Linked DNA regions of Homo sapiens: region 1 is linked to region 2. The links are contacts of gene promoters, found by promoter capture Hi-C in human tissues and cell types (Jung and others, 2019). All regions are on one chromosome and are shown on one strand. The core of a region is centred on a gene start or on the middle of the fragment in contact, and the rest is flanking DNA. Distances in the headings are between cores, read along the strand shown. Region 1 overlaps MYHAS (myosin heavy chain gene cluster antisense RNA). Region 2 holds the start of MYH8 (myosin heavy chain 8).

Region 1 (2,700 bases), core at 83-2,582, 56 kb after region 2:
AGTTTTGGGTATGGCGCTAAGATACCTTTAATCAAGAAAAGAAGTACCGGGAAGTCACTGCTGTTCCTGCCAACAGCTAGCATCTCCTGTAGAGTTGGCATTAGAGATAGGAAGAGAATACACTCTGTTTCCAAGTTGTGGGATAGCAATGAAAGATAACTGTAAAAAGATAAGAGGCAGTTATGTTGGGAAAATGGATTAAATGTTTTCTTTTTCATGTACTAGTTGTTTGTGAGTACTTTGGATTTTTATAAATTTTACTGGGTAAACAGTAGCCTGTTGATTTTGACAGTGTTGAAACTAAGAGAAAAGATTGAAAAAAATAATTGTTTCTTAAACATAGGTTGTAGCTGGGGAAAATGCAGAAGTAAAATGTGGATAAATACAGATATTTTTCTTTGAACAAGTAAAATGAATGTATCAATCTGAAATCTGGATTTGCCTTGAGTAACAGGAGAAATAAGACAGGATGCAATAATTGAAGAGGAGAGGCAAGTCAGGATGCAATAACTGAAGGTAAAAGATAAGACAGGATGGAATAACTGAACAGGAGGGATAAGACAGGATATAATAATTGAATGGGAGAGATAAGACAAGATACAGGGATTGGAGAGGAGAGAGAAGAAAGGATGTGATAAATGAAAAAGACAAGACAGGATGTAATAAATGACAGGGAGAGATCAGACAGGTACAACAAATGAGAGAGAAAGAGAGAGAAGACAGGATGCAATAAATGGATATGAGAGGTGAGACAGGATGCAGTACATGAGCAGGTGAGATAAGACAGGTTACAAAAATGAGTGGAAGAGACAAGATGGAATAACTCAATGCGAAAGGTAACATGACACAATAAATGAAAAAGAGAGATAAGACAGGATACAGTAAGTGAACTGGAGTGATAAGACAGGATGCATGTAGTAAATGAGCAGGAAAGATAAGACAGGATGAAATAACTAAATAGGAAAGATAAGACAAGCAGGAGTAACTGGTCAGAAGAGATAAGACAGGATGCAGTAAGTGAAATGGAAAGATAAGATAGGATGCAATAAAAGGGCAGGAGAAATAAGAAAGAGTGGAATATCTGGATTGGAAAGTTAAGACAGGATGCAATAACTAAGCAGGAGACATAAGACTGGATGCAATAACTGAACAGGACAGATAATCAGGATGGAGTAAATCAATAGGAGATGTAAGATAGGAAGTAATAACTGAAAGGGGGAAAATATTAGCTTATTACAGACAGATTCTCCTTCCTACTAGGGAATGCTTTCTGAAGCTGGTAACATTGAAGGATGAGTAGGGTGGACTTGCAAAGAGGAGGAAAAAGCATTACAACAGGAGAAAGAAGAATATGACTGTGATATTAAAATATGGGAAAGGCAGCACTTCAGTCTACCTGGGTATCATAGAATTTATAAAAGTGAATACTTTGATGCCTACAGAAAGCATGAAAGTTGGGTAAAAATTGGAGACATTCATTTACTTATACTTTCAAAATACAAGTATTGAGCATAAACTGTTCAAGGCACAATCCCAAGTGGAAGGATACAAGAATGAACAAGTAAGACCCCCAATTTACACTCATGTAGCTTGTATTTTAATCAGAGAGAAAGACATTATTATAGTTATTATAAGTAATAAATGATGATATCATATAACAGGGACATCTTAACTGTTCTGGAGGGACTAGGAAGTGAAGAGTATCACAAGGCGAAGCTTCCAAGGTGCGAAAGGACTTCTTTAGGGTTTTGGCCTTTATGCTAAGAGCAAAGGGATGGTTTTAAGCTACAGAGTGTTGTGATCAGCCTATTATTTTTAAAAAGCTCTCTCTGCCTGCAGTTTAGAATAGATTTGTGAAGTAAGAATAGGTATGTGGAAGACCAGGCAGTAGATGATAGTAGTTTGGACAAGGAAGATGACAGTAAAGATAAAGAGAAATCGATGGTCTTGAAAGATGTTTAGGAGTAGTAAAAAAAAGTTAATGATTGATTGGATATGGGGGAATGAAGGACATGTAGATTTCAAGGCTGATTCCTAGCTTTTAGCTTGAGCCAACTATGTAGATAATGTTGCCATCCACTATGATAGAGTGGTATGGGAACAAAAGCAAGTTTTAAAGAGAGGAGGGTAAGGTCATGAATTCGTCTTGGCTGTGTTGCGTTTGAAGTGCCTATTAGTAGTGAGATTGAGTCTGACTCTCAAGGGAGAGAATTAGGCTTGGGATATAAAGTTGGAATTCATAGGTTATGAATGGCAATAGAAGCTAAGGGAGTAGATGAAATCATTTAGGGAGAAAATGTTAAGTGAGAAGAGATGGGGGTCTAAGATGGGACCTTGAGTCATATCACATTGAGCTCACATAAACACTTGAAGGTTATAGAGAGGAAGTTGAACTGACAAAGGAGAGAGAAGGAGAGACTAGATAGCCAAAGCTCTGAAGAAAACCAGGGCAGGAAAAAGTCTTGGAAATCAGGTGAAGAGATCAATTTCAGAAAGAAAGAATTGTCAGATGTATAAAATGTAATTGGAAGGTTATGTTAGTTAAGGCTTGAGAAGTGTCCATTTGATTTAGCAACAAATGAATCACTGAATCATAGTGAGATCCATTTCAGTGAGGGAGCAAAAACTATTTTGAAATGAATTAAAGAGTAGGTGGGAGGTGAGGAAATGAAAACAGCGTGTATACACAATTCTTTTCAG
Region 2 (2,700 bases), core at 139-2,638:
GCAACTGTCATTATTTAATTTCCTCTCCTCTTTCTGCATAATGTTTGTCTATGCCATATGCCAGGACAATCATATGGTGAGAAAAGAAAGTTTGTCTTGTTCAAATGAAGGTTCATATTTTCAAAGCTATCAAAAAATCTTTGCCTTTTAAGATGGCCATTTTCTCTCATAAAGCAAATAATTATTTTTAACATCTTTATGTTGATATTTGGTGTTGTATCTCTCAGTGGATTGTTAGAAGAACATAATACATTCTAATACTCTGGATTTTTTGTAATTTGGGTTGTTCCCAACAGACTTAGCATTGCCTTGATTCCAAAATCTTTTTTGACATGAGAGATTTCAGCTGTCAGTTAACAGATCTAACCACAGAGGAATGAGAGCTTCAGCACAAAGGCCCTTCTTCCCACATAAATTCCATGGGTTTCTTTTCTTTCCACCCAGAAAACAGAGAAAAAAGTTTTAAGAGTACATCACATGCATGTAAGCCATTGTCTTCTGATTAATAGATAGGCCTCTGCAATGTGGACATGTTAGATTGGTTGAGTTTTTCCTTTATTTTCAATTAGAAAGTTACTTAGGGAAGGGCAGGATTCCTCTTAAATTAGTCATGGTATTTAACACCCGGTGGATGTAATACTTGCGACCTGTTAAGTAAATAATAATAAGTCTTTCTAACAACAAATAACAAATAATCAAAGGTAGCTAAAATATTTATATTTATATTTCTAGGTAAAAATCTTTCTGGAGTCTTTAAAAATGTCTATAAAATGTCCTAAGTCCTCAATGCTTTGCCATAGAAGAAGACTGGCATGGACTAGTCTATTGCCACTGGACAGTTCTAAGCACAGCTGAGAACTCACTGTTGAAGCTAATTCTGTCCTAAACGGTCTTTGAATCTTGGAACCCAAATGAGGATAGTCTCTGAGAAGAAGACATTTTGAAAAAGTTATTTTCTAGCATTTATAAACACTCACTCGGAAACACTCTTTCCTGATATAACTGCAAAAACATGGAAATGGTGTATAATTCAGGATTGTTCACAGCTTCATTAGACTATATCCCCTCTGTCATCAATAAATTAATAAAGCCAAGTCTTACCTCTGGAGTTCCAGATAAAAATGCAGGTTCAGAAGTGTTCCACTCTGTAAAACAACAAGCTTCTTATTAGTGATGCTCCGAAATTCCAATATTATAGTTACAGAATTGTTATTATAGTTACAGAATTGAAGTTTCCCTACCCCAAAGCTTGGTTCTATGAAGACAAAAGTTAAGATTGAGAGAGCAGTTTAATGCTCACAGATAACTACGAGGTCAGCTCTTTTCCCCACCTGGGGTTTTTCGAGTTCCAAGGCCTTCATCACTTACCTCTGGGTTCTTGGTGGAAATAAGGCACAAGGGGCAGTCCTGCTTATATAGGAACTAATGTGCTGATGCTGCAACTACCTCCTCTTTGTTAGGGCAAGACATTTGGCAACATGAACCCTCAGCATAGTTTGTAGTGACATTTGTCATGTTTGGATATAATTAGAAGTATTCATATCATTTTGTGTATGCAAACCAATCTCCTATAAATAATTTGACAGAGACCGATCTGCCAGCAGAGAATGCTTTCTAGTGTGCTGGGAAGGGAATCTTTGACAGTGCCTGATGGGGCCTCAGAGTAAGTTCTTAAGAGCTATATTCAATTTGGCAAACTCTTTCATGCACGCCTGTGGTAGCCAAATGATCAGATACCCGGGGCACACGGCTGTCAGGGCCTTAAGCACGTTTCCTTATTTGCTACCACGGGAACCCCCCACTGCATTCCCTTGGGCCACTACAGATGCTCACTCTTGAAGTCCAGGCTTAGACAGCAGAGATTCTACCTTGAGTCTCCACCATTGGGCCAGTGCCCACTCATCTAACTTTGAAAAACATTATTAGTAGAAAATAATATGTTTATTACAGAAAAAAATACAGGTAAGTAAAAAAAGTCTCTGTAATCTCTAATGCAGAAATAAGATAGAGGCGTATAAGTGGGATCATATTATAGATGCATATATAGTACATGTGTGCCTTGTAATATGCTTTAATAATTAATATATCATATCACTAATGTAATTTATACCCTATTCTTTAAATAAATTATGATTTTTTTTAATTAAACTCTTTCCTTTTTTTAAGGTCAGATATATTGAGGTATAATTTACATAGAGTCAAATTCACCCTTTTAAAGTGACAGTTTTATGAGGTTTTTTGCTTTTATTTTTAAAAATTTTTAAACTTTATAATAAAATTTACTTCTTTTGTTGTATGATTGTATGAGTTTTTATACACGTATTGATTCATGTAGCCACCACCACAGATAGGATGCAGAACAATTCCAGGCCTATGGGTTTGATAAATATATGCAGGTGTGTAACCTCTTACACTGTAATTACATAAAAATTAAAGCCTTAGAGATTAGGCTAAATTTTCCCTTTGATGAACACTCACAATGCTGGTATCTCCCTTTTCTCCCAAGGTAACTACGGATACCCGTTTAGTTTGTAATATTGCAGACCTTTTCTGTACATTTACATATGTATTTTCTGGGAAAATATAAATTAGTAAAACTGGTCTAAGGAAATTGGGCCATAGAAAATTTATAATATATAATATAGATGTTTAAAATATAGATAGTATGATTATTTATTTACAAACTTTCTTTTTTCATTC

Evidence for each region. Contacts are between HindIII fragments. The study calls those that stand out against the background at their distance.
Region 1: a fragment that was not itself captured here is called in contact with the fragment with the promoter of MYH8 in region 2 in 2 of the 25 tissues and cell types used here (bladder and thymus).

The regions. Positions count from the first base shown.
Region 1 is chr17:10,476,952-10,479,651 of GRCh38, forward strand. All of the region lies in intron 2 of MYHAS (myosin heavy chain gene cluster antisense RNA), which reads left to right. Among named protein-coding and RNA genes, the nearest start is that of MYH4, 8.7 kb to the left of the region's middle. The HindIII fragment of the contact is 3,737 bases long and covers 1-2,700 here.
Region 2 is chr17:10,420,562-10,423,261 of GRCh38, forward strand. MYH8 (myosin heavy chain 8) reads right to left here and starts at 1,389. Exons shown (of 40, transcript NM_002472.3): 1 at 1,369-1,389; 2 at 1,102-1,145. All of the region lies in intron 2 of MYHAS (myosin heavy chain gene cluster antisense RNA), which reads left to right. The HindIII fragment of the contact is 11,670 bases long and covers 1-2,700 here.